Linked DNA regions of Homo sapiens: all the other regions are linked to region 1. Evidence: promoter capture Hi-C in 16 types of primary human blood cells and fetal thymus (Javierre and others, 2016). All regions are on one chromosome and are shown on one strand. Each heading gives the region's core, a stretch centred on a gene start or on the middle of the fragment in contact. The rest is flanking DNA. Distances are from core to core; before and after follow the strand shown.

What was found. The method cuts DNA at HindIII sites, captures the fragments that hold promoters and counts their contacts. A CHiCAGO score of 5 or more calls a contact.
Region 2: a fragment that was not itself captured here is called in contact with the fragment with the promoter of JARID2 in region 1 in 1 of 17 cell types (fetal thymus); the score reaches 6.4 in fetal thymus.
Region 3: a fragment that was not itself captured here is called in contact with the fragment with the promoter of JARID2 in region 1 in 2 of 17 cell types (naive CD4 T cells and total B cells); the score reaches 5.5 in naive CD4 T cells.
Region 4: a contact is called between a fragment that was not itself captured here and the fragment with the promoter of JARID2 in region 1, in 1 of 17 cell types (naive B cells). The highest score is 5.2, in naive B cells.
Region 5: a contact is called between a fragment that was not itself captured here and the fragment with the promoter of JARID2 in region 1, in 1 of 17 cell types (fetal thymus). The highest score is 5.9, in fetal thymus.
Region 6: a fragment that was not itself captured here is called in contact with the fragment with the promoter of JARID2 in region 1 in 2 of 17 cell types (M2 macrophages and neutrophils); the score reaches 6.8 in M2 macrophages.
Region 7: a fragment that was not itself captured here is called in contact with the fragment with the promoter of JARID2 in region 1 in 1 of 17 cell types (fetal thymus); the score reaches 7.7 in fetal thymus.

What each region holds. Positions count from the first base shown.
Region 1 is chr6:15,243,943-15,248,162 of GRCh38, forward strand. It overlaps JARID2 (jumonji and AT-rich interaction domain containing 2), which reads left to right and starts at 2,127. Exons shown (of 18, transcript NM_004973.4): 1 at 2,127-2,642. The coding sequence starts at 2,598. JARID2-DT (JARID2 divergent transcript) reads right to left here and starts at 1,432. Exons shown (of 1, transcript NR_187237.1): 1 at 1-1,432. JARID2-AS1 (JARID2 antisense RNA 1) reads right to left here. Exons shown (of 2, transcript NR_120502.1): 2 at 3,873-4,202. RefSeq lists enhancers at 242-755, 1,945-1,994, 2,105-2,204 and silencers at 755-1,064, 1,075-1,334. The HindIII fragment of the contact is 5,356 bases long and covers 18-4,220 here.
Region 2 is chr6:14,631,343-14,635,616 of GRCh38, forward strand. All of the region lies in intron 2 of LOC101928354 (a long non-coding RNA gene), which reads right to left. Among named protein-coding and RNA genes, the nearest start is that of LINC01108, 350 kb to the left of the region's middle. The HindIII fragment of the contact is 5,778 bases long and covers 1-4,274 here.
Region 3 is chr6:14,289,130-14,293,044 of GRCh38, forward strand. It overlaps LOC124901266 (a long non-coding RNA gene), which reads left to right. Exons shown (of 2, transcript XR_007059465.1): 1 at 1-939; 2 at 2,958-3,237. Among named protein-coding and RNA genes, the nearest start is that of LINC01108, 5.6 kb to the left of the region's middle. The HindIII fragment of the contact is 612 bases long and covers 1,212-1,823 here.
Region 4 is chr6:14,425,931-14,429,640 of GRCh38, forward strand. It overlaps LOC105374942 (a long non-coding RNA gene), which reads right to left. Exons shown (of 6, transcript XR_926510.3): 5 at 728-1,084; 6 at 1-537. Among named protein-coding and RNA genes, the nearest start is that of LINC01108, 140 kb to the left of the region's middle. The HindIII fragment of the contact is 1,428 bases long and covers 1,295-2,722 here.
Region 5 is chr6:14,654,643-14,658,911 of GRCh38, forward strand. The region is part of intron 1 of LOC101928354 (a long non-coding RNA gene); the gene reads right to left. Among named protein-coding and RNA genes, the nearest start is that of LINC01108, 370 kb to the left of the region's middle. The HindIII fragment of the contact is 754 bases long and covers 2,628-3,381 here.
Region 6 is chr6:14,698,193-14,702,448 of GRCh38, forward strand. All of the region lies in intron 1 of LOC101928354 (a long non-coding RNA gene), which reads right to left. Among named protein-coding and RNA genes, the nearest start is that of LINC01108, 410 kb to the left of the region's middle. The HindIII fragment of the contact is 4,245 bases long and covers 1-3,906 here.
Region 7 is chr6:14,443,399-14,447,112 of GRCh38, forward strand. The region is part of intron 2 of LOC105374942 (a long non-coding RNA gene); the gene reads right to left. All of the region lies in intron 1 of LOC101928331 (a long non-coding RNA gene), which reads left to right. Among named protein-coding and RNA genes, the nearest start is that of LINC01108, 160 kb to the left of the region's middle. The HindIII fragment of the contact is 3,705 bases long and covers 498-3,714 here.

The sequences.
Region 1 (4,220 bases), core at 877-3,376:
TTATTTCGTTTACTGAAAGCTTCCAATAACGTGCCTAGTTTTAAACTAGGTTACTGTTATTTATCACATAATCATCCCCACAGGTTTGATCACCACTAATTTGCAGATGCGGAAACTGACAAGCTCAGAGAGGCTCTCGGTTGCCTTTTGGGAAGTGGCCAAGGCGCGATTTGAATCCAGGTCTCTTACCTCCAGTTTCTGAGACCTTTCTAGACACCAAGGTTATCTCTTCAAATACTGCTGCAAGTAAACAGCTGTGTGAGTATCTAGACTTTTGAAGTTAGCAGACTCTAGGGAATAGGTAGAATAAAATATATGGGTATGTGTTCGCGGGAGCGCTTCTGCCACGTTTTATTCCGAGGCTAGCCTGAGAGATCATGGAAAACATTGCTTCTCCAAAACCACAGCGAAAAACAAGGAAATTAACAAGGCAGAATCGCGATGCGAGACTTGACAAAGTTGTTAATAAGGCGAAGGCCCAAAGCGCTATGCCAGGGCCTGCTACTTCATTTGTTTCAGCGATTAAACCAGCACGACAGGGGGCTGGAGGCAGGTAAAAAGCAGGCTCTTGCGTGGCCCGGACAGTTGATATTCCTGGCACTCGGTGTTCGAGATGTTTCCTTACAATTGCGTGTCTGTGCGGCTCGGTCTCCATATTCCACTCATTTTTGTCTCAACATTTTGTGGTATTTTATCACAAAATACGCCCGGCAAAGCAAAGATCCCGTTCAGTCTCTTTAAACACGGCTATCTTTTCTCAGGAGGCAGCCGCCGGGGCTTCACTCCTGGGCCACCAGCGACGTCCTCCAAGCGGGTCGAGCGGAGGCGCGTTCGCGACCCAGGGGCAGCGTGCCGAGCCCGGGCGTGGGGGGGCGTGGCCTTTCCACTCGGCGACCCCCGGCCACCGCCCACCCCGCGCGTGGGGGCGTGCGCGACTGCGGGGCGCGGAGAGGGGTGACCTCGGACTACCCTAGGCGCCCGCAGCACGCTCTGTACACAGACGCGAGGCGCTGTCCTGAGGTGACACCGGCTGCACGGCACAAGCAGCAGGCGCCGCCGATCAACTAGTTCGCACCGAGGATTCCTCTTGGTGCGTGGCCCAGTTTTCCTTAGGACGGGCTCCAACCCCTCCCTGACACCGCCCCCCTCACCGCCACGCTCCGAGGCCTTCCCCGGGGAAGCCTCGCGTCCCTCCCCCGCGGCTCCGGGCCGCACGCGCGCGATTCCTCGATTCCACAGGCGGTTCGCGCCGCGGGTGGGGGCGGGGCGCGCGGGGAGGGGGCTGGCGGCCGCCAGGGGAGGGGGGCCGGGGCCCGGGGGGCGGAGGAGGGCCGGCGTGGGGAGTTCCTCGCTCGCGGACCACACGCTCCGCGGGCCAATCCCGAGCCAGCCTCTAGCAGTGTCGCACGCGGGACACGTCCAAGCGTTTGTTGGCACGGCCAGTGAGGGGGAGGGGGCGAGGAGGAGGGAGGGGAGTTGAGTGACAGGCTTTGCGGGGCAGGCTGGGAATTGTAGTTCCCAGCTTCCGTGGCCATAGCCATTTTGTAGTCGGGGGACTACAACTTCCAGAAGATCAAGGGGACCATTCTAAGGTGCCCCGGGAATAGGCGGCTCTCCCCGGGGCCGGGCGTCCTGGGGCACTCCTACCCAGCAGCCCGGCTGCAGGTAGACGCGAAGGCAGTGGCGGGGGCTGGCGTGGGGCGGCCGTGGGGTGAGCGGCAGGCAGGGGAAAGGGGGTGAGGTGGAGCGACGGAGCGTGCCATGCATTGAGCTAGGGAGCCTCTCTCAATTCCACGCCTGGGCTCGGCGTGGGAGCGACGCCCGAGGGCTTGCCTGGGAGGGGTTCGTCGAGGTCGCTCGGGTGTCTGGTTGGCCAGGCTGCGGGGGTGCCCTGGACTGGGCCAGGGGCGGTCGGCACCAGGCTAAGCGGGCGCCTGGCGGCTGAGCGGTGGGAGTTTTCGGCTGGCGCCCGGCGGGGAATTATCCGAGGAGCCCTAACTTGTATAAAAGCAGAGTCCATTTAAAGTTGGGCTGGATAGCCTCTCTCTCATTGGTTAGGGGGCTTGGAAAAAAGAGACTCGGCGAGCCCTCGCTGTGGTGCTGCCGCCGCCGCCGCCGCCGCCGCTGGAGTTGACTCTTCTGCTCGCACTGCTGCTGCAGCACAAACGTGACTTCCAACATTTTTTATTTATCTTTCCCTTTTCTTTTCCAAGATGTAACTACGGATCAGACACTAAGGACCTTCACGTTTCGCTGATGTAGTTTTTGGAGGAAAAAGGGGGGGGAGTGAAGGGCGTCGGTTTTTTTTTGTGTGTGTGTGTATGTGTTTCGGGGGAAATTTTCCATTATGAGTGTTTTACTAAAGTGAATTTTTTTTTGTTTGCTTCGTTCGTCTTTGGCTCTTTTTTTTTCCTTCCCAATTTCGGATTTATTTCAAGGCGAATCTGGCTTTGGGGGAAGAGGAAGAAAAGTCGGATTACAAGATCAACCACCACCAACAACAATAAAAACCACCAGGATATTTTTTTGCAAATTTCTGACGGCTTTAAATTCATGAAGCAATTGTCCCCTTTTGCAATCAGCATTTGGATCTCAGAATGAGCAAGGAAAGACCCAAGAGGAATATCATTCAGAAGAAATACGTAAGTGCTCCTAACAACACATCCTTTGACTTGCAGTTTTAAGCAATGGCTGTGAATGTCAAGTTTATAGATAATTCTGCCTCTGAAGGGTTTTAAACACAGCGTCCGATAAGGCTGTTTCTTTTTTTTCTGAAAGAGGGCTTTTCAAGCAAAGTGGTGTCTGCCTAGTTTGGTTGAAAAAACAGACTGGTGTAGAGATACCTCAAGTGAATAAATTGACCTCGAATGACACAACCATAATCTACTTTTAGATGAAAGGCAAGGGATTTTGGTGGAGCTTGAGGTGGGGGGTGGCTGCGGTAATGTAACTAAACTGCATTCTCAAGCGGATTTGGCCCCGTATTGCACTTTGCATGCAAATGAGCCTGTGTTATTATTATTAATGTTATTTGGAAAAATCGTGTAACGCATGTGTGTTGGAAGCCCTTTAAGTTGCGATCGAGGGTCCGATTATGGCGATCTTCTCTTTGCACTGGCACATCAAATTTAATGTCTGTGGTCGTTTTGGCTTATCTGGTTTGCAACATAAACCAGTTGGGAATCATGTTACAGCGAATGCATTTGTTGGGATTGACTTTAATAATGAGGCTGGTTTTGTTTAAAAAATTCATGGTTTCCAGTTGTAGGGGAAAAGGACACACACTATGGCTAATGTTTTTAAGTGTGTACGTGAATGCATATGTAAGTAACTACAAATAATTTCTCCCTGTTAACTGGGCTTCTGAAATTGGGTGATTATTCCTAGATTTAAATGGCTTGGAATAGTTAAATTTGTTTTGTGCATAGTACAGCTACGTTTTGATTGGCATGGGGAGTGTTTTTGTTTTGTGTGTGGTGGCTTTTTTTTTTTTTTAAGTTTGAGGGGAGGGAGGAAAGGGGGACCGAGGGATTAACCAAATATGCACTCGAGTGATCTGTGATTAGCTGCATGCTTTAAATTAAATAACTCTTTTTTTTTTTCAAAAAAGGCCAAATGAACATACCTTAGGAATAATGCAACGTAAGAGGAAAGTTTATTTAAGTTGGGTAGACAAATTGGTGTTAATATTTTCCCTTTTTGATCATTGTGGTGTGTGTAATGAGAGATGACCTTCGGGGCACTGGTTTTGTAAAAAAATATATTTAATGGAAAAGCTGAATGCCTCTTCAAGAGAGCTGATCCTTATCTAGACACGTCAACTTCAACTATGAAAGAAATGCAAGGTTAAATAATCAAGCCCAACTTAGAAAGCTGTTCCATAAAGAATTTAAGAATTAAAATACATCCGCATTGCAGAGGGCTGGGTAGAATGCAAAGGACTAGTTTAAACTCGGGCTGTAGAAACTGCACTGAGGCAACCTTGTCTTGGAGCGTGGACGCCTTCCCGGGGCACGTCCGTTTCGGATGCAGCCACAAAGCAAATGGGGTAGAACTTGGACGAGAACCGCACCCCGCCTCCCATTCCGGACCTCGTTGAGGTGGAGAGCAGCGTGGGGTGGGTTTTCTTTCTTATTGCGGGCGTTCAGCGGATCGTGTCTCCGAGTCCGGGCGTCCGGCTGCAAGCCCGTGGCTGGCGGCGGCTGCGGGAGGCACGGCAC
Region 2 (4,274 bases), core at 807-3,306, 610 kb before region 1:
TTTCCTTGTTTCTCATGCCTACCCATACCTATGAGATGGTGACTCTTCTCATCCTCATTTTTCAGAAGTGGAAGCTGAGCTCCAGGTCTCACATATTGTAAATGGCAGAGCCATTTTTCAAACTCAGGAACCACTTCTCCATTTACGTTTTGGCCATTCCTCTCTGTTGCCAAGACAAGCATAAGTGCCAAGCCATCAAGAAAAGCCCTGTCCTATGCTTTCTCTGCACAGGCAGATTTTCGGAAGGGTGCTCACTGAGGCTGGAATCCAAACGCGGGGAGCACTGTGATGTGAGTCTCTCAGGGCCTCCCTCGGTGGCTGGATGTACCTGCCAGGCTATCCCTCTCAGAGCACCTTCCCTCTGAAGCCCAGGGGGTCCTGTCCAGGCTGCTTTGGGATGCTCCCTGTTCTGTTTTCCTGATGCAGGCTGGAAAACCCCCAACATAGCCATGTGCAACCCTTAAGTTCCACTAGGTGCTGGCCTTCTGTCTCTTTGAGAAGACTTTGAAAATCTGTGTTCTAATCTAATCTGTGCTCAAAAGGTGGGAGATAATGGATGATTCCACTTATATGAGGTCCATAGCAATAGACCAATTCATACAGAGATAGAACAGAATAGAGGTTACCAGAGACTGAGAGGTGACGGGAATAGGGACTTGTTGTTTAATGGGTACAGAGTTTCTATTGGGGATGATGAAAAAGTTATAGATAGATAGATAGATAGATAGATAGATAGATAGATAGATAGACAGACAGACAGCGGTGATGGTTACCCAGCATTGTGAATGGATTTAATGCTACTGAACTGTGCCTTTATGAATGCTTATGAATGCTTAAAATGATACATCTTATGATATTTTTACCATAATAAAAAGATAAATAAATAACATCTGATATATGCTGCAACATAGATATACCTTAAAGACATCACGCTAGGTGAAATAAGCCAGACACAGAAGGACAAATACTGTGTGACTGCACTTATGTGAGATACCTAGAGTGGTCATATATTTCTAGAGACAGAACGTGGAATGGTGGTTTCCAGGGGCTGGGGGAAGAAGAGAATGAGGAGTTGGTGTTTCATAGGTATGGAGTTTCAGTTAGGGATGATGAAAAAATACCCAGAGCTGGATGGTGGTGATGGTTGCACAAGGTTATGAATGCGCTCAATGTCACTGAAATGTACATTTTAAATGGTTAGAATGGTAAATTTTATGTTATGTATATTTTACTCCAATGAACAATTTTTAATAAATGAGGAAGAAGGTATTTTGCCCCACACACCCTCTAAAAAGAGTCTCCTTTGTAACGGGGGCTCAGGAGTCCCAAAGCTGAGACACGGCGAGTCCCCTCCACAGGCCTCCAGCTGCTGGAGGGGTACCTCACAATTCTGAGGATGTAACTAGGCAGGACACAGAGCTGAGGAGGGGTAGGTTCTTGTGGGGCTTCCAGATGCCTCCCAGTGTCTCCACAGGATTGGCTGTGTGTGGCGTCCCTCTGCCCAGGGCTACTACCTCTGTTTTCCTGGCTCAGCCAGCGAGCTAAGGAGCTGTGTCATTGGTGGCTGTTGGGGTCCTGCTCTGGGCTACCTGACAGCTCCAGAAGTGTCCATTTGCTTCCATTACCAATATCCCTGCTTTTAGAAAACTCAATATTCCTGATGCTCAATTCACAAACAGAGAAGTCATGATTGCGATACTCCAGGGTTTCGAAAAAAAATCAGACATATTGATAAAGATATAACAATACATATTTTTTAAATGTCCACATTCCATTTCTCAAGAGCATGCATTTCTCATAAAGTAAGATGCACTGACACTTCTCCCAGGGCTCCAAGGACAATACTCACTGCCACTTTTCCAGCCCAGAGCACTCAGCAGGCCACCTTCACATCCCTCCCTCTACTGGGTGACTTGCAGACTCTGAGCCTCCTCCAGGACCTTTGGAACTACCTGGCTTCCCCCTCTGGGAGCAGCTCTCAAAGCAGGGTCCCCCAGCCCTTTCTAGAAGAGGACCTTTCTCAAAACCCTGTTGAGAAAACAGCCAGTCCCCGGGAGGCCTGCTGTCCTCTCAGCAGTCAGCACAGGTGAACAGGGACTGCAGCAGGTGTCTGCGTGACTTTGTCATTGACAAGCACATCCAGCAGTGCCTTGAGACCTGCTCAGAAAGTTATCTGCTGATACCATCCCTGTGGACACCTCCAGGAGCTGCCAGGGGATACTCAGCCCCAGCCACGTCCAAGTGCAGCCAGAAGCCTGCCCAGGCCAGTGCGTTGGAGTTGTGAGTGATCCTGCTTCCTGACAAGGGCCAGCTGGGCTCCCCCAGCCTCCTGGTCTCCAGACTCCCTGGGCTCAGCCTCCTGTGGCACTCCTGAGCTTCAGAGAGGGCTGGTTCTGTGACTGGAGCTGTCAGCTGCAGAGATACTGCAGAGACACCTTTTAAAATTCATGGCCTTACTCTTCAGAGTTCAGAAACAGATCAGACTCCAAGATGAAAGCGTGGTTTACCCTTTCCCTGGTCCTGCCAGCCCCTTCCCATCTCCCATTCCACCCTCCTTTCCATGTCTCCTTCCCGCAGCTTTCCTTCCCCATTGTCCTCCAGGATATTTTGCATTTATCCTAGTTCTTAATCCACCTGCTTTCATCAACCAAAGCCAAAAGAACACTCCTTTGTTTCCAAAAAGAACATTCGCTCAGCTCGCAATGCAGGCCTGACTCTCAAAGGTATCTCCCTTTGTCAGGTAGGAAGGGCCACGAAAGGTGTGGCTGGGCAAAGGAGATAGAGCAGAGTTTTGAACTGAAAAGGAGGTGGGCGGCAAGGGGTGCAGTTCTCCTTTTTTTTCCAAGAAAGGCATTTGCTGAAGGGCCATCCACCTGAGTCGGGGGGGTGGGGGCGATCCAGGGGCGGGGCAGACAGGCTGGCAGCAGCAGCACATCCTGCCAAGATGAAAGAGCGATGTGTTTGCTTCTTGCCGCGAGTATAAGCAACAACAGAGATCCTCTCAGGAGAATTCCATCCCCAGACATCTCCTTGCAGCATCTCCCCTGTTGGGCCTTTACTAAGAGGCAGCACCTAGTGTCCTCACTGATGTGGGCACCAGGAAAGCTCGCTCTCCTCCCAGACACAGGCTGCCACACTCAAGGCACAGAGACTCTTCGCAGCCACAAGAAGTAAATGGAAGAGAAGCAAAGCCTGCTGACTTCAGGGGCATGGACCCAGTGGCCAGGATGACATGTCCAAGCCACAGAGGGAGAGTCTGCCCTGGGAATGAATGATTCCTTTTGGAAGGAATGATGGATAACACTTATCAAGAATTTATCTGTACCTGACACAGTTCTAAATTCTTCACCTATATCAGCTCACTTAACCCACAAAGCAACCTTATGTAGTACATCTCATTAGCCCCACGGTTAATCTGATGCACCAACTTAGCTAGGCCATGGGACCCAGATATTTGGTCAAACACCAGTGTAGGTATTGCTGTGCAGGTAATTTTTAGATGAGATTAACATTTACATCCGTAGTCTTTGAGCAAAGCAGGTTACCCTGAATAATGTGGGTGGGCCTCATCCAGTCAGTGGAAGGCCTTAAGAGAAATGACTGAGGTCCCCTGGGGAAGAGAGAACCTGCTTCAGAATACCTTCCCACTGGAACGCCATCAACTCCTCCCTGGGTCTCCAGCCTGCCCTGAACGTTTTGGACTTGCTAGTCTCCACAATCGCTTGAGCCAGTTTCTTAAAATAAATCTTCTTCTCCTCCTTCTCCTTCTCTAGTTCTTCTTTTTCTTTTCTCTTCTCGTCTCTTTTCTCTTCTCTTCTTCTTTTTTCTCTCCCTCTCTCATTCTCTCTCTCCACCCCACCCCCCACCCCCAACCTGTTGGTTCTGTTTCTCTGGAGAATCCTAATACACCTTACCTTACAGATGAGGAAACTGAGGTGCAAAGCAGTCAGCTGTTTTGCCCAAGATCTTGAGGCCAGTGAGTGTCCCAGGCAGGACTAGAATGCATGCTGCCTGGCCCCAGACCTGGCTCAGGTAACCAGACAGCCTGCTGCTTCCCTCAGCCACAGGAAGTGGCTCAGCCACAGGAAGTCACGGCTACCTCTCCATTCACAAACCAAAGAAGGTAGGAGGTGGAAGGAAAATGCATTAAAAGTAAAATTCAGCTGGGTCAATGGACAAGGACAGGATATAGACTATAAAACCAATGATATTTGTTTTCATTCTAGGCTTTATTTTGATATCTGTGACCTTAAGTGTGATTTACATCTCTCTGA
Region 3 (3,915 bases), core at 268-2,767, 960 kb before region 1:
CATAGCACTTCTATTTTCTGTTAAGAATCTAGTCACGTGGCCACACCTGGTAATCACCAGCTGAGTAGCCATGTGCCCAGATGCCATTTTACTATTATAGAAGCCACATACTCAGCTTCCACATAATACAAAAGAAGAAAGAATAAGTTTTGGTAAATAATTAGAAATATGTGCCACAGACCATACACACCATGAAATACTATGCAGCCATAAAAAAGGATGAGCTCATGTCCTTTGCAGGGACATGGATGAAGCTGGAAACCATCATTCTCAGTAAACTATCACAAGGACAGAAAACCAAACACCGCATGTTCTCACTCATAGGTGGGAATTGAACAATAAGAACACATGGACATAGGGCGGGGAAGATCACACCCCAGGGCCTGTCATGGGGTGGGGGTCGGGGGAGAAATAGCATTAGGAGAAACACCTAATGTAAATGACCAGTTAATGGGTACAGCAAACCAACATGGCACATGTATACCTATGTAACAAACCTGCACATTGTGCACATGTACCCTAGAACTTAAAGTATAATACAAAAAAAAAATGCCCCAGACATGTCGCAGTTTTTGAAAGCAATTTTTTAAAAAGTGGAAACTGGCATTCAAAAATCTGAACAATGGCAGCGGGATCATTGTAATAATCGCTTTGGCTAACAAGCGTAATACTTTAAAGTAGTAAGAAGGCTAATCCTTTAAAGGGACGAATCTTTTGTTTTATGCATGTATAAAGTCTGAGATGTTTGTTTCAACCGTTCATTAAAGCATTTTTAGTCGTAGCTAATATTTTACCCCTTCGTGACTTCTATCTTCTTCTAGGAGCCAAGCCTAAGAAGGCATCAACTCAACAGCTTCAGGTCCCAAGGAGATGTGGTATAATTGGCACACAGCAGTTCACATTCTGCTTGCTAGCGACTTCAAAACACTCCTCAAATAAGTATGCAGAGCCATTTCCTCCTATTTTTGACTTCTCACAGCCCTATTCCACCCTTGTATTTTCACCAGTGTTAACTTGTGAGGAAAAACTAGCACCTCATCTTCTTATTTTGTGTGGCTTACAAATTGCCACATATTAAATGGACATATTTGATTTAGTAGCATACATTTAAATGTTTAAAATATGAGGAGTGTTCAGGGAATGCCATTTCACTTAGCAGTCAGTGCTAACATCATTTTTTGAAATGCTCCCCATTTCTACGATGTAGCCAAAGCTTTATTTATCATCAGATTTGCATTTTGTGATGTATTCTTGAGCCAGCCAAACTCATCTAAAAGCAAGCTCATTTAATGCAAAGTAGATTTAAATGTGACTGCTTTAAAATGGACCACCCTGTTTAAATGATCCTCCGGATGTAATTAGAAAAAACTCGAGTTCCTAGGATAGGAAAAAAAAGGGTGAACTAAATGATTTCTCTCTCCCTGGGTAATTTTTGACCACGCACCAATAAAACTGCTGATCATGAAATGATTTATTTTAAATGTAACTTTCCCACAAACGGTTTAACAGGAGGTGGTTTAGAAATGGTACACCACATTTGAGCAGACATCGAAAGTGTGTAACAAACCATGATGTTTATAGCCTTCAGCGTCCCAGACTCTTCAGACAAGAGAGAAAGAGAGGGACAAAAAGAGAAAACAGAAAGAAAGACGAAAAGAAACAAAAAACAGTAGAGTTGTGAGACAATCTATACTCCAATTTTGACTTATATTCAGAAGCATCTTGTTATCTCATGGGGGAACTCAGGCTCTGTTATCCTAACTCAATTTCCATACCAGTAGTAGTGAGTGATGGTAATGTTATTTAGGAGCTATTCACATAAAAGCTTACCATCCAAAGAGGATCTGGTAGTATTAGCATGCTTGTCAAAGCTCCCATCCTCTACACAATGAAGAACCTCGAAACAGAGCTGCCTCTTCCCAAGCCCTGATGAGGCCACGCTTGGTGCCAGCCATTAAAAATAAAAGCCCGTTAAACTTTCAGGACATGCTTCCACATTTTTGGGCACCGCCAAGTTTTCAAGATTTGAGCCAGTTCAGTGATAGTATCAGCAGACCAGCATCTCCTAGGCAATGAAAGTAGTTACCATGGAAACCCCAGAGCTGCACCCATCAACAGCTTTACAATTTTGACAGTTCAGAAAGTGACTATTTAGGAATTTCAATTAGAGCAGAAACATACACATTTAGATGAACAAAATGCTTAAAAAGTCTATAGGAAATGATTTAGATACATATAAATATATATTTTAAATCAGAAGGCAGACTCCTAAATATATTCTGCGTGTAGAAGTGAATTTCAGGAATAATGTAAAAAGCACTTGGTAACGAAAAAAGATGTTAAAGTTCTTTTATCCCTTTTCCTTCCTTGGAAAGGAAATAGGCACCAAGAATAAATAAGTTGTGAAAAATGATCAGCGGATTTTTTTAACAGGGTAGTCACAATATGCCATGCTTGTTAAGTCAGAACTTGTGCATATTATTAAGAAATATTTTAGAATTTTATATTTGCCAATTCCTCATATTTGAACAGTTCTGGCAGGGTAGTCTTTCTTACAACTCTGCTGTAAGAGCTATAACTTTTTTTCCTTTTTATAATAAAGGAAACTGAGGTTCCTGAGGATGGATGGGCTCCACACAGTGGATTCCAAATCAGGACCAGACTCAAATCACTTTGAGCCCTGGTTACTCTTTAATTCATTGGCAACAACAGCTGCTCAAATGAAAAGAGCCACATCAACAAATCTTTCAAACAGAAAGTCAGGCCCCGTTAAATAAAATATACACAAAGCCGAAAACTCAGATCTATAATAAAAGAAACAGGTCCTGTTACTAGAGATACACAATGGTAATAGCAATAATATTAATTTGCAATGGTTAATACTAATATTAATACTAATGCCAACTTCACTGCTAAGAATAGCTGTGCTAGTTATCTTGGTTTTTCTCCTCCATCAGATCCAAGCTCTATGCCCCCCCAAAACTGAACCCATGGACTGCTTCATGTGGGCTCACTTGCCCTCTGCTTCTGGCTGATTTGGCAATGGAGACATACAGAGGAGATCAGAAGGTGGGAGGAGAGAAAGGTTGGTGTGTTCATTCCTCCAATCCCCACCTTGCCTCTTGCACAGCTCCAGCCTCAGGCTAGTTCTTGGTCCTTTCACCATGCTTCATTGATTCCTGAAACCTGCTACCACCTGTGTAAATAGTATCAACATTAAATAACTCTTCAGTTAAACTCTTATCTGCACTATGTATGCCCTGCCCAGACCCGATTGTTACAATAATGAATGCTTATACAAATCCTATATAAATGCTATTTTTTTTTTTTTTTGAGACGGAGTCTCTCTGTCGTCCAGGCTAGAGTGCAATGGCCTGATCTCAGCTCACTGCAACCTCCGCCTCCTGGGTTCAAGCGATTCTCCTGCCTCAGCCTCCTGAGTAGCTGGAATTACAGGCACCCACCACCACGCCAGGCTAACTTTTTTGTATCTTTTGTAGAGATGGGGTTTCACCATGTTGGCCAGGGTGGTCTCGAACTCCTGACCTCATGATCCACCCACCGTGGCCTCCCAAAGTGTTGGGATTACAGGCGTGAGCAACCGCATCCGGCCATAAATGCTTACTCTTAACTCTGCCCCTATTCTAAATGCTTTATGTATATTTAACCTTTGCAATAACCCTATGAGGTAGATGCTGTTGCTCCACCCATTTTATAGATTAAAAAATTAAGGCAGGAACTTTGGAAATGCTTTTTGCATGGATTATTTCCTTGATCCTCATGACTCCCCTATGGGTTGAGGGTAGGGAACTGTGATACAAGACAGAAAAGTTAGGAGACAACTCAAGGGTGCTCAGCTATGAAGCCAACCTCTGTGCCTCCTTGCTCTGTGGATGTCCTCTTGCCCCGTTCTGA
Region 4 (3,710 bases), core at 759-3,258, 820 kb before region 1:
AAAAAAAAAGGAAAAAAAATTAGAAACTTAGAGGAGTATGGCCATGATGCAACTCTCTTGAGATCACACGCCCCCTTCTTCCAGAAAGCCACCAGCTTTTGTTTTCATCAGTAACTGCTAGCAACAGGTCCCTTGTTACTAACATAAATTATGGATAAAGAATTGGTAACAGAGGTACGATAACTCCTCTGCATCTGATAAAATAAAAGGGGACCTGCCTTCCTGGATAGGAACATTCCCAGTAGCAAAAGTAGAAGAAGAAAAAAATATTTACTTCAATGCTCATCCCCTTCTCCCTCCCACTTTCTCACCTTGAAAACAACCTATTGAAAATGTTCACAGAAGGGAGGTTCTGCTCAGTTTTTGGAAGAACGCAGCATCTAAGTATTCATTCCACAATGACTTGAGCTGACCATATCAGTAAATATGTTGTACTCAAACAAAATTGTTCAAGGTGGAATAGAAATAAGGTCTCAGCTCTTGAGAGATAAGGCAAAGGAAGCACAGACTGCTCATCTGAATCTTCATATGGCTGACCTGGAAGAAACCAAAGACTTATTTGGCCAAAGTGTGGTTTTCTATCTGAACAAACATCCAATTATATGCGGAATAGACTCCAGAGCATTTCAGAGAGATAAAGTATAATGACCATGGTATTAGCCTTGCAGAGGCAGATCCCTGGGTTACTGACAAGCCAGAGGGCTTGTGTAACATCTCTGTAACCTACCTGTGTCCAAAATCAGCAGTAAGGACTTATCTGTAGTCTTCTCAGATGTTCTTGATCCTTTTTTGTGTGTCCTAGAACCACTTCATCCCATCCAACACAATGACAACACTTCAAAGAAGAATGTCACAGCCTTTGTAAGTCTTTCTAACAAAAGATGTATTGTCATTACTGGATCTCCTCTTGTTCCACACAAAGTTGTGTCTAGTATTCACTGTTCTGAACAAATCATTTGGTAAAGCATTTCATAAGTTTATTTGGATGAGGATAGCATGGGCTTTTTTGAACCACTGGTGAGAGACGAGTTGGTTATCCAGAGGCTGCAAGACCTGTGCTCCTGGGCTTTGCTGTGTGAAACACCTGTGCATGCAGAATGCAGGATAAATCTTTTGAGACCATTGGATCTACCATGCTCATGAAACTTATCTAAGAAAATCCTTGTAAGGCACAAAAACAGAGAAAGAGGATTGAAAGACCTGGCCGAGATCTTAATCTTTCGTGTTGATTGCAATGTGAGTTGCATTAACAGCAGGTACACAGCTTCTATCACATTCTTTGCCTTTAGAGTCAAGCTTTCATATAGTTCAGGGGGTGCCAAGCTAGGGCCCAAGAGCAAACTATGGCCTGTTGCCTCTTTTTTATATAGCCTGAGTCAAGAATGATTTTTACATTTTTAAATAACTGAGGAAAAAGTCAAAAGAAGAGTTATATTTTGTGACAAACTAAAATTACACAAAATTTACATTTTAGAGTCCACAAGTGAAGTTTTATGGAAGCACAGCCACACCATATTGTCTATATCTGCTTTTCTGCTATACCAACAGAGCTGAGTACTTGCAACAGAGACCATGTGGCCTGCAAAGCAAAAAAATATATAAAATAAAATATTTCTATTGGTCTTTTACCAAAAAAACAGTTTACTGACCCCTGATAAAGTTCAAGTTCATTCTTAAATTCAGCCTTGCTAATTAAATAGACCTGAAGTCTTGCTAAAATGCAAGGATTAGTTTTAGAGAATTATGATGTAATCTATTGGGAAATGAGCCACAAATTATTATCAAATAGGATATAAACTTAATTTTTATTAAAATGGAAAATGTTTCATAAAATTTATTTTAAAAATACAGTTATATAAAGTAGAGACCATCACAGGACATGTGGTATAAAAGAGACCTGACCTGGCCAGGCCCGGTGGCTCACACCTGTAATCCCAGCACTTTGGGAGGCCAAGGTGGGTGGATCATGAGGTCAAGAGACCATCGTGGCCAACATGGTGAAACCCCGTCTCTACTAAAAATACAAAAATTAGCTGGGCGTGGTGGCAGGTGCCGGTAGTCCCAGCTACTTGGGAGGCTGAGGCAGGAGAATTGCTTGAAACCAGGAGGTGGAGGTTGCAGTGAGCTGTGATCGTGCCAATGCACTCCAGCCTGGTGACAGAGCAAGACTCCGTCTCAAACAACAACAACAACAAACAAACAAACCTGACCTGCCTATTAGTCAGGGAAATGAAAATTAAAATGCAAAAGGATACTGTTTCATGCCTCCAAAATTGCCAAAAAATTTTAAAAGTCTGATAATATGAAGGGTTGTGAAGGTGCAGAACAATGTGCATGGGCAATATGTGTACTCACACAACCGCTTTGGAAAGCAGCTTGGCAATTTCTAATAAAATGGAAGATGGGTTTAATAAGATGACTTAGTGACTCCACCCCCAGGTTTATAGCCTATTCTAAAGCAATTCTAGCACCTACGCAAGAGGAAACATGTAGAAAGATGTTCTATGCAACACCAACACGGTAGGTTGTGCTTTCTGCTCCCCTGTGGCTGGGTGGAGCCCTGTGGCTAGTTCTGGTCATTTGAGTTGTGAGCAGAAGTGACACACATGGCTGGAGCATCTATAAGGCCAATGTGAAACCCTTCTGAGTTATAATAAGCCACAGGTTAAATAGAAATTGCAATGGAAAATACTTCAAATTAAATAATAATACTACATATCAAAGCTTACCATTATACTACAAATACTTATCATTACACTATCAAATACTACATATCAGAGTGTTAGCCTTGCTTAGAAGGGAATTTATAGCTTCAAATGCATATTTAGAAAAGAAGAAACACTGAAAAAAATCAATAAACTTTGAATCTTAGCTTGGGTTCCCCAGAAGCAGACCTTGAGCCAAGGATTCAAGGGCGAACAGTTTAATTGGGAGTGAATTAATTAGCTTGGGCTGCCGTAACAAAGTATCACAGGCTAGGTGGCTTAAACAACAGAAATTTATTTTCTCACATTTCTGGAGGCTGAAATCTGAGATCAAGGTGTCAGCAGGTTTGGTTTCTTCTGAGGCTCCTGCCCTTGGCTTGCAGATGTCTGTGTTCTCCCTGTGTCTGCCCATGGGATTCCCTCTGTGTGTGTTGTGTCCTAATCTCTTCTTATAAGGACACCAGTCATAGTGGATTAGAGTGTACCTTCATGATCTCATTTTAATTTCATCACCTCTTTAAAGCTGTATCTCCAAATAAAGCCACATTCTTAGGTACTTTGGCTTCAGACTCGAACAAATAAATTTAGGGGCTTCGTACGTTGAATCTGAGGGGCTCACAGTTCAGTCCCTCACAGGGAAATAGACAAGTAGGAACAGGTAGGAAGTGAGATACGGAGGGAAGACAGATAAATAATAAAGGGTATGTTATGAAGGCAGTCATCACAGCAGGAGACTGGAGCTTGATTGCATTAATTACCAAGAAGAACTCTAGAAAACTAAGTAAAATATGCTTCAGAATTATCTCAGCCGAAGGGCAAGAAGAGTATTTACACCCTGACAGCCTTTGGTCTTTAGTTAAAGGTTTCCTCTGGCGCTGTTAGTTCCCAGGCACCTCCAGCCCACTATGCCCATAGGCTAAGTAAGTTCAGGCAGCCTGGGGACGGCCCTCGGACAAAAATGCAGGTCCCGGCCCTTGGAGGTCTGGGAGTGCACAGGCCTGACGA
Region 5 (4,269 bases), core at 1,755-4,254, 590 kb before region 1:
AACAAACAAACAAACAAAAGAAACCACTAGCTCCTAAACTCTGCTTTTAATTTCTATTTTAAAATTCCTTGACTCCAACTGACTCACATCTCTCTGGATCATGGGTTGTATTAGTCTATTGCATCGCTATAAAGATACACCTGAGGCTGGGCATTTTATAAATAAAAGAGGTTTCATTGGCTCATGTTCTGCAGGCTGTACAGGAAGCATGGTGCAGGCATGTGCTCCTGGTGAGGGCCTCAGGAAGCTTCCAGTCATAGCAGAAGGTGAAGAGAGAGCCGGTGCATCACATGGCAAGAGCAGGAGCAAGAGAGACCAAGGGGTAGGGTGTGCCACATTCTTTTAAACAACCAGATCCTACCCACACCCTACTCTTGAACTCAGAGTGAGAGCTCACCCAGTTTTTGGGAGGACAGCACCAAGACATTCATGAGGGATCTGCCCCCCATGACCCAAACACCTCCCACCAGACCCCACCTCCAACATCAGGAGTCACATTTCAACATGAAATTTGGAGGGGACAAACATCCAAACCCTATCATAGATTTTCCTAATTGGGGTGGTGTAAGTGACTATGCACATAGAGATGGAGATGAAATCAGAAAGAAACTGAGTAACAGCCGTTATTCGCTGAGTATTTACTTCAAGCCAGCCAAGCACATTACCATAGGTAATCCTCCTAACAGCCCTAAGAGGTAGGTCTACTGTCATCCTCATATTACAGATGGGAGAGCCAAGGCTAAGAAGGTTAAATAACATGTACAAAGTCACAGAGGTCTTTAGAGACTGAGCCAGGATTGGAAATCAGGCAGTCTGACTCAAGAGCCGGAAGAACAGACTAGGTAGATGAATGAAAAGCCAGAAAAACAGATAAGGTTCCAACACAAAACGTAAAAGAAAGGAGAAAAGGAGAACTAGGTAGAGACACACATGGAGCAGGTCCCGTGGGTCAGGAATACAGTTCACACTGGATTCCTCAGGGTTCTTTATGCCAACGCAGTTGAGAAACAGCAGTTCCGAGCACTGAGACTCGAATCTCAAACCTTGGTTCCCGCTGCAGCCCTGCTGTTTTAACGCTGTCCCACCGTGGCTTTATCATTGCATGTGGAGAGACTTTTCCCCCCGCTCAGACTCATTAAATTCTGTTAACCAGAACTCGTTTCATGCAAAAGCTGCAGAACTGTGAAGAGGAGCTGAAAGCATGTGGTATGTTTAAATATGCTAGAGCAATATGCTGACCAGCGAGGTTTGTTTATTAAAATTCTTATGCGGGGTGAAGCTCAAATGAGCTTATGTCAGCTAGTTCATAGAGAGGCCCTGTTTTCAAGATTAGGCTGCTGTTTGTCTTCTTTACGGAGCTGACAGAGGACATTCTGGAGAATATAATACATTATGCCAAAAACATCTGTATTATAGAAAATCAACAATGAAGAGCAACAGCTCCAAATGGAGCTAGTACTTTGAAAGGCGTTTATCTGTCAAGAGATTAAACTGCTATTTTCATCTACGGAGGAAACTAGAGGAAGTGTAAACCAGTTTAAGAACAGCAGAAACTAGCCTACTTTTTTCTGCCAAGTTATTTTTGCACATTCAGGAAGACACAGGATGGGTTTTTGTTTTGTTTTTAATCAAACTGAAGAAAATACTTAGAGAGCTATCTTTTCTCAAATCAGAGTACTCAGAGCTGAATGTTTTCCTTATTCTTTTCCCCATAGAATATATGCCTCTGAATGAGACCCAATGGATGAAAGGGGTTTGCTTCTCACAAGGAAGTGGCCTCTTACCGTCCTATTTTAAAACCCCAGAGTGTCACAGGCTTACTCAGATGAGACAGGTCGCTGGCAAACAAATGATATTTGTCACCAATTCCTGCATCAGGGTAATGAGAATAATAAGAAGAAGTGCCTAACATATATTAAGCATTTTCTATCACTAGGTGTTTTATTATACATTCATTATTTCATTTAATCCTCACATCTCTATGAGTTGGGCACCAAAATGATCTACTTTTTAAAAAATCTTATTAAAGTATACCACACATACAGAAAGTTACACATATTTTAAGTATGAAACTCAATGAATTTCACACTCTGAACTGGCCCGAGTAACCATCACCCAGAACAAGACACAGAATACCTACCTCCAGGCCTCTCATGCCTCCATCCAGCCGCACCCCTCAGGGGCAAGCACTATCCCAACGTCTAATCACATAAAGTCGTTTCCCCAAACTTTCAACTTTAAATAAATGCCATTTTACAACTTCCCCTTTCATATCCAGCTTCCTTCACTCAACATTATGCTTGTAGATTCATCCATATTCTTGTGAGTAGTTGTATTGTGCTGTTGTACTGTGGATTGTGTATAGTTATAGATTATTAATCCTTACAGTTGTAGAATATTCCATTATAGAAACACACCACAATTTATTTTTTCTATTTTATTGATGATGGGTTTGCGACCATTTGAAGGTTAAGGTTAAGGTTTAAGCTTAAGAATACTGAGACCCAAGATGTTAAAAATAACTTACAAACCTAGTAAATGGTGGATCCAGGATTACAACTGAAGTTGGCTTAACTCCAAAGCTCATGCTGTGAAGCACCATGCTGCACTGTCTTTCAGAAGAGCAAAGCTTGCAGGGACCTCTCCTTGATGGGTCGAAAGGTCTTTTGTACAAATAATTTGGGGGGCCCGTGGGAAGAAGATATTTGAATAACGTGCCACAAGTCCAAATCCACCACCTCTACAGAGCTCTTTGCCTTTGGGCATGTCTCTTTGCTTCTGATTCCCATCACTTTTTCTCTTTTCTTTTACTTTGATTGACTGTTCCAATAGCCCTATCAGCATTGTGGGACTTAACTGAGTAGCAGAGCCTGGAAACACCTCATTGCATCTGAAACCTAGAGAAGACGCTGGATGTAAGACACATACTTACAGCAACAGCCACTGACAAGGTGAGCACTCTGATGGATACCTGAGTGAAGAAGAGTATGGAGCGTGTCCAAATTCAGTGTACGTGTACATTCTAACTGGTGTGTTGGCTCACCTGTCTTCCTCTCTCTCATGTTTTTCCTACAAATAGTTGATTATGCTGATGCCAGATCATTCTGATGATAAGCATCTATTTGGCACATCCAGTAAACTGATCCATCATAAGGATAATTGTATTCGAATTAGCATTCATATTTTTTACATGCTTTTAGGAGGAAATGGAAAGGAAAGGAAGAAAAATGATACTTTCAAGGAATCACTTAGAGATAGAGGAAATATCAATATTTGAGCTCTTCTAACGGTTTGCTCTCTTCAAATGGATAGAAATCCAATGAAGAGGCTCTGCTCAGCTCAGTAAAGACAGAACACATCTTAGGCAACCTTTTCAGCCCAAGCTTTGGATTTTTCCAACCCTCACAATCAGAAGTGACTGTGGTTGGACTGAGGAGAGCAGGCTCAGAGAAACTCAGGCAAACCTCAAGGAACACTTTCAGCCCAGCTCTCACTCACTGCATCTCAGCCCAGCTCTCTGGTGTTTTCCTGCAGATGGGCACAGAATCATGTGCCTAGTAGGTTATCTGGCCAGTTGACAACTGATCATGCAGCAAATGCACGATTACTGTAGGCCAATGAACATTGCTTGCTAAGATGAGAGAAATCACTGGATCAGCTGAGGTCTGAGCCAGTGTGTCACTTCTATAAATACTGTTGCGGTTTCCAGGTACAGCACCAGAAGAAACCCATCTTTGCTTTACAGAGTCTCTAGATCCTTGTCTTCTCTTCTGTGTCCTCTGATGGAAGGAAGAGGCTGCCAGCACCAACTACCTTCAATTGCCAGGGCTGCTGTAACAAAGTACAATAGATGTGATGGCTTAAACAACAGAAATGTATTGTCTCACAGTTCTGAAGGCTGGAAGTCCAAGATCAAGGTTTAGGCACGGTGGCTTCCCTCTGAGGGCTGTGAGGGAAAAATGTATTCCAGGCCTCTCTTTGCGGCTTGCAGGCGGCCATCTTCATATTCGCATTGTGTTCTGTCTATGTGTGTTTCTCTCTGTCCAAACTTGCTTTTTTTTTTTTTTCTAATAAGGGCACTAGTTATATTGGATTAGGGACCAGCTTCATGATCTCACTTTAACTTAATTGCCTTTGTAAAGAGCCTATCTCCAAATAAGGTCACATTCTGAGGTTCTGGAGGTTAGGACTTCAACATATGGATTGAGGAGAAACACAATTCCACCCGTCGCACCGACACTCACAAAAATGTATTCTCTTCTCCTCAAC
Region 6 (4,256 bases), core at 534-3,033, 550 kb before region 1:
GGCTGAGGCGGACGGATCACTTGAGGTCAGGAGTCTGAGACCAGCCTGGCCAAAATAGTGAAACCCTGTCTCTACTAAAAATACAAAAATTAGCTGGGCATGGTGGTGTGCGCCTGTAGTCCTAGCTACTAGGGGAGGCCAAGGCATGAGAATCTCTTGAACCTGGGAGGCGCAGGTCGCAGTGAGCTGAGATCACACCACTGCACTCCAGCCTGGGCAACAGAGCGAGACTCCATCTCAAAAACAAACAAACAAAAAAACAACTCAACACTACATTTGCTATTCATGCCTTTAGATCTATATATAAATCCCTTGCCTTTCTTGATAACCCATCCATTTGGCTTAGCAGTTAACAGTATATCTAGAATCAAGCAGACCTGTGTGGAATCTGCTCTACCATTTGCTAGCTGGATGACTTTGGAAAGTTATAATCTTTCTGAACTTCAGTTTCCTCATTTGCAAAATAGAAATAACAATACCCATCTATAGACCAAAACAAAGCATGTAAAGCACTTGGCACAGTGCTCAGGTATGTGATAGGAGCCCACTAAATGTCAGCTATGATTGCTATTGCTATTATTATTATTATTATTATTGTCATTCACCTTCAGGTAGTCAGCTTTCCAGCTCCATTGAAGCCCTCACTGTCCCCTTACCTGCTTTCGATCACTCATCCTGAACACCTTTCTCTCAGCTATACATGGTCAAATACTATTTGTGCTTTCCTGTCCATCTTATTTATTTATTTATCTATTTATTTATTTATTTAGACAGGGTCTTGCTCTGTCACCCAGGCTGGAATGCAGTGGCACGATCTTGGTTCACTGCAGCCTTGACTTCCTGAGCTCAAGCTATCATCCCACCTCTGCCTCCCAAGTAAATGGGGATACAGGCACACGCCACCACACCCAGCTAATTTGGTTTATTTTTTGTAGAGTCGATGTCTCACTATGTTCCCCAGGCTGGTCTTGAACTCCTGGACCCAAGTAATCCTCCTGCCTCAGCCTCCCAAAGTGCTGAGATTACACACCAGAGCCACTGTACCCAGCCCTGTCCTCTCGGCTCACTGCAACCTCTGCCTCCCGGGTTCAAGCAATTCTCCCACTTCAGCCTCCCAAGTAACTGGGACTACAGGCATATGCCACCATGCCTGGTTAATTTTTGTATTTTTGTAGAGATGGGGTTTCACCATGTTGCCCAGGGTGGTCTCGAACTCCTAAGCTCAGGCAATCCACCTGCCTCAGCCTCCTAAAGTGCTAGAATTACAGAAGTGAGCCAGCGTTCCCAGCCCCTGTCCATTTTAAATACTACCTGCTCTATTATGTCTTCTCTAATACTGCCAAGCCAGAAGCAACTTTCTCCTCCACATGCAAATAACACTTTATTTGCTTACTTTCTGTGGAGCTTATTGTTTTCTCTTTTGTATGTAACATATGCAACATACATATGAATCACTGGCCTATAGGCTGTACTCCTTTCTAGAGAGTTTCCTGAGGATGTGGATCATTTTCTATTCATATGTGTCCTTTCCAAAGTGTTCAGCATAGAGCCTTGCCCTTTGTGACAATCAATAAATATGAGTTGAATGAATTAATATTTCTGTCCACTCAGTGCAAAACGTTTGCTCAAAGGCAAAGGACAGGCAATGAGGAGGGTCATAGGGTAATCAATATCTCAATCTTCGTGTCCCCAATCCCTGTCACATGTTACAGTAAATAAAGTGATATGACGTTTACCTAGACATGAAACTTCCTTTCCTTTTCCCTCCCTGCCATTAACTTGGCAATCTTGAGGAAGTCATTACCCATTCTAAGCAGCAGCAACCTCATGGATGAAAATAGGAAGTTGGGTCAAATATCTAAGGACTCTTGTGTTTGTAAAATCCAGTATCTCATATGTCAGACAATTTCTTACTCCCTGATATGGTTTGGATGTTTGTCCCCTCCAAATCTCAAGTTGAAATGTGACCTCCAATGTGGGAGGTAGGGCCTAGTGGGAGGTATTGAATCATGGGGGCGGATTGCTTATGAATGGCTTAGTGCTATACCCTTGGTGATGAGTGAGTTCTCGCTCTGAGTTCACATGAGAATTGATTATTTAAAAGAGTGTGGCACCTCCCCTCTCTCTCTCTTGCTCCCACTCCCATCACATGACACACCTGCTCCTTTTTACCTTCCACCATGATTGAAAGCCTCCTGAAGCCTCACTAGAAGTCAAGCAGATGCCAGCACAATGCTTCCAGTACAGTTTGCAGAACCATGAGCCAATTAAACCTCTTTTATTTATAAGCTACTCAGTTTCAGGTATTCCTTTATAGTGACGCAAAATGGACTCGCACACACGCACAGAGACAAAAGTTTGCAGGAGGGAGCTGAAGCATCAAAGCCACTGAGAGAACAAGTGGGATCCAAGCATCAAGGTTGAGTCCAGGAAACAATAGAAGGATGTACATGAGGAGCAAAGGGTTGGTTAAATGTGAGGTCAGACCTAGGGAAAAACCCATCAGGCCAAGAACAAGATCCACAATGGAGGCTGGAACATGACAAACAGCAACAACAACAAAACATAGTCCACATCAGCTAGCTCAACCAAGAAAATTTAATATGGGGCTCTTGCAGCAAAGGTATCAAAAAAAGATAAGTGTGTGAGGTAATGCATATGTTAATTAGCTTGATTTAGCCATTCCACAATGCATACAAATACTAAAACATTATGTTGTATGCCATAAATACATATGATTTTTATTGTCAATTTTAATTTTTTAAACACACACAAAACCCAAATGAGATTGTAAGGCAGCCCATAGATTGACAATGTCAAAAAGTCACAACCCCTTCTAGGACTGAGGAAATAAAGGAAGGAGGTGATGTTACCCATGCCCACATCCGGGCTGGTCCAGCAGGAGGGATTGTTCCATAACAGCTAGAACAGATGAGACTCAGCTACCCACAAATACACTCTCCCAAGCAGGAAACAAGAGGGATAAATACCTTGGCTTCTCCCATTCTCCTACCTTCCTATGACTCTCTTGGCCAAACCCAGCTGTAAAACCCCTGGCAAGATCGTTTGGGAATAGGGTCTATAGGGGTTAGCATCATGAAGTAAAAAATAGCAGGGGAAATCAGAAAAAGCTCAGAGAGAAAATAAACAACTAACCAACCCAGATGGTGTTGATGGTAGCTTCAGAGAGGATTTTTTTCCAGAATGGGATTTTTTTTTTTTTTTGAGACAAAGTCTCACTTTGACACCCCAGCTGGAGTGCATTGGGGCAATCTTGCCTCACCACAACCTCCGCCTCCCAGGTTCCAGCAATTCTCCTGCCTCAGCCTCCCAAGTAGCTGGGATTATAGACATGTGCCACCACGCCAGGCTAATTTTTGTATTTTCAGTAGAGATGGGGTTTCACCACGTTGGCCAAGCTGGTCTCGAACTCCTGACCTCAAGTGATCCACCTGCCTCGGCCTCCCAAAGTGCTGGGATTACAGGCGTGAGCCACCACATGGGGCCTACGGGTCTGGTACTTCTTTGAAGTTCCCGCCCCCAGCTGTTGCCATCACTCCTTGCTGTAAAGTATGGATGCCTTGGGGGTAACTAAGAAGAGATGTGCTGACAAATGGCCTGGCCTGATAAAATGGGGTTTAGATGTAAAGACTCTGTTATATATACTTAGTTGTGTAAATTCAAGAATTCTCCCCAAGATGCTTTTTAATGTGTTAAACTTACTTGTAACTCATGCTTTTCCGGCTTAGTGCATCCCAGACTAGAATATTAGCCTTGTTTTTCCAAAAGGACATTGATCTTATTGGCTTACCATGTAAACTATTAATTTAGCTTTAACAGTAAACCCATATTCCAAAAGAAACATAAAGTCCAACAGTGTGTTTTCCTGCTGAGTGCTGAAAAACAAGCTTCCTTTTTTCTTTTCCTTTTCTTATATTTCACAATGATATTCATTGACTTACAGCTGTCATTTGTGAAACATACAGTAAAACGACACCACATGCATATTTAACTTACACAAATTTAAGTACGTCTATTACAGAGAGAAAAATAGAGAGAGAGAAGCACACAGGGTCAGTGTAAGGAGAGAGAGGAGAGGGAAGAAATTTTCCAGTTACGTGGCGATTCTACCAACCATTTCACTTAGTGAGCAAATGTACCGGAGTGAGCAGGAGATGTGAGATGTGAATCTATTCTGCCCTGAATCAATTTTTGTTCCTGCTTATCTCTCAGAGCCTCTTGCCGAGATACTAATG
Region 7 (3,714 bases), core at 1,100-3,599, 800 kb before region 1:
CTCATTAGTGACGTCAAATGCATGCGTAAATAAATCTTCTCTTTTCTTCTGCTAATCTGTCTATTGCCAGTTAATCTGCAGGCCCCCAAGCATTCCAAACTAATTGAATAGACGAAAAGTCTTCCTCCCAATAGTTAATATATATATATGAACACACATGCATACACATATGTGTATATTCTGTGGACAGTTCCTACAGGTTATAGACCAGGAAATATTCTGGCCACCTGTCCCAGGGGTACCTTTGTCTCCCCCATATCCCAACACACAGTTGCAAACCACCGCTCAGAGTGGGTCTCTCTCCATCGGGGTCTGCTTCTGTCAGGTGGGCATCAGCTGTGCCCATCCAGTCTGCTGGGCACTCACATCTTCCAGCTGAGGCCCATGGCCCTCCAGTCACCAGAGCCACTGAGCTGCCTATTGTTGACAGGAAGGAGGGAGGGGGCCTCTGTTCCTCTGTGTGATTTTCTGTTGGAGATATTTTTTTAAAGCATTCAAGCTTATGCACTAATGTTTTCTAGGGCTTTAATGGAACGCCATTTCTATTGTTTTGTTTTCTTTCCCTTTAAAAAGCTCCCCTTCTCCCCATGGGAATTACACCTGCATCCACCAGGGCCCCACGGGGGAACCATCCCTTGTTCAGAGCCTACCAGCTCCCTCAGGCCTCTGCTCTGGTCCTGTTAGTGCTATTTCCCCAGCATCAGAACACTGTGCAGCACCTGGCCCAGGCCCTATCCACAATTCTAAAATCCCCAAACCTCTGAAAACACAAAAATTTTTATAAACACCTTGGTGGCAAAACATGAAGTGAAGTAAGGTGGCATTTATCCCACTTAGTGTGAATATTCATACATTTGGCTGAGACAGGACTGTGGAAATACCGTGTTTGATTTGCAAAGTGTTGCCTCCAACCCCTCTAGGGATGTTATATAATATTTGGTTTATGCACATTGCCTTTCTCAAATCTGAAAATTTCTGAGTTCTAAAACACATCTGGCCTCAAGGGCTTCTGATATGTGCTTGTGGACTTAGGCACATGTCAATAAATACGTGCTGAATGCACTTCTGAACTCCTCCTTCTTTCCCACCTCCAGGGCTTTGTTACAGGGTCAACTTCTCGATGCTTGGCTCCTTCCTGTCTGATAAGAACCATCCCTCAGCCTTCAGACAAACAGGTGTTAAGTATCTTTTCCTCATCTATCCTAGGCTTGTGGCTTAGATCCCTCTAACACAAGACAAATTAACAAGGGTAAAACATACACATTTCTTTAATATAAGTTTTACATGACATGGAAACTTCAAAAATGAAGACCCACCCCCCAAACAGAGAAACCTGTGTATTTTCATGCTCAGGTTTGATGAAAGTGTGATTGGACAAAGGGAGTATGATGTCATGGTAATAAATGGGGGGGAACTTAGCAAGGTCTGTTTGTCCATATTCTTCGTGGTGTTTCTGTGTCTTCCTTCCTTTTCTCTGGGAGTAAGGAGGGCACTTGTCACATGAGGTCTTATGACCTGCTTCAAGGTAGAAGGGAGAATACATGTAAAAGTGAACTTCCTGCTTCTGTGCTTTTCCCAAATGCCAAGTTGCTATATTTTAAGGTAGCGTGTCCTGAACCCCATCACAGGCTTTTGGTAGGCCTGCCCAGGTTCAGTATGACCACTGGGGGTGATCCACACGTGAACCAAAGCCAGATCCCAACTACACATGGGAGTTTCCTAAAAAGAAATCCACCCTTAACATCATATTAGGAAAAAATAAGATCGAATATTTTCAGATCTGAGCAGGCATTCAGGTCTACTCAGCAGAAAAAATTTTTTTGAAGAAATGTAATCTAGTAGCAGTCATTTATAGACATCCTGAATACAGACATTTATCCACACTCCAGTCACACCGAATCAGTTTCAGATGGGAGTTCTAGAATCCTCTTATTAGTATTATTTTAATCTTTCTCTCTTTTTCCTCCTCACTCTTCTGCCCAAGGTCCGGAGTCTAGTCTCCTTGTATCCCAGAGGGACGTGGTTAGGTTTATTCTGCAGCTGAAGAAGCTCATGCTTCAGGGCCTGTCACTAACTGAAGCCTCTTCCAAGCCCTGCACCTCCTTTTGTATTTGAATTTATGAGTTCTACTCCTTCAAAATGACCTCCCGAGTTAATTACGCTCTAGATCACACAAAACATGACCCCTCCCCTGGGAGATGACAGGTATTGCTGGTCCCAAAGGGAAACCATGGGTAGCTCCCTGTAGTCTTTTCCCATCTTCAGGATGGAGCATCTATAAGACAACCCTTCCTCATGTTAATAATGATGGATTTCTCACTGCATAACTTGGATATTTCATGCTAAAATACTCCCCCACTTCCAGGAATCAGAGGCCTAAGAAAGGGAAAGTCTATACACCTCCCTGAGATAGGGATTTTTACCTCTCATTCGTAGATAAGAACAATGATGCTCAAAGAGCTTGACAAGTCATTTATCTAAGATCATGCAGCTGGTAAGAGATCCAGTCAGAATTTGAACCCAGGTCCTAAACTCCTAAACTGGTGTTTCTTATTTTATCCTGTGTTCCTAATTCATCAGAGGCAACCATTTGAAGAAAGAAATAATCTGGATCCTTCGTTTCAGAGTTAGGTAACTGAACATGCACTTGAGCCTTACAGAGTAACCTAGCCCCAATAGTGCCAACATTTTTAGTGAACACAAAGATAAGTTTTGAGGCTTTCTCCCCTTGAGTTTTGAGGCTGCTTTCTCCCCTTTCACTTTTTTTTTATACCAATGTATGTTTCAGCAGGAAACGTATAGGATAAAATCCTTATACTTCAGGTGCTGATGTGCTTAAGCCACTTAACACTTTTTGGCTTAATTTTTTTAAGAGGGCTTTATGACTTGGAGCTAGAGCAATCCTAACGTGTCTGTGTGACGAACATGCTAATATTTGTGCTAACGGCAGGGTGCAAAATCCAGAAAGGCCAATGACATGGGGCTGAGAGGCAGGACCTTCTTGTCACCCCTGTGTGACATAAGGGTTTCAACAAGGTGGGCTTCCAGGAGTTGATCCAGTGGGGAGTGCAATGCAGAGGTGACAAGGAAGGGACACTCTATGAGTTTATAGGAGCTGTCATAACAAAGTACCACCAACTGAGAGGCTTCAAAAAACAGAAATTTATGGTCTCATAGTTCTGGAGGCTGGAAATCCAAGATCAAGATGTTGGCAGGACCATGCTCCCTCTGAAGGCACCAGGGAAGGATCTAATGTTCCAGGCCTCTCTCCTAGTTTCTGATAGTTCCTTGGCTTGTGGAAGCATGAATCGAACTTTCACATGGTGTTTTTCCTCTGTGTGTGTGTCTGTGTCTAAATTTTTTCTTTTTATTTATTTTTTTTTTGAGACAGAGTCTCACTCATTGTCGCCCATGCTGGAGTGCAGTGGCACTATGTCAGCTCACCACAACTTCTGCCTCCCAGGTTCAAGTGGTTCTCCTGCCTCAGCCTCCTGAGTAGCTGGAACTACAGGCACACGCCACCACGCCCAGCTGATTTTTATATTTTTAGTAGAGATGGGGTTTCGCCATGTTGGCTAGGCTCCTCTCGAGCTCCTGACCTCAGGTGATCTACCTGCTTTGGCCTCCCAAAGTGCTGGGATTATGAGCATGAGCCACCATGCCCAGCCCAAATTTTTTCTTTTGATAAGGATACCCAATCATATTCTATCAGGG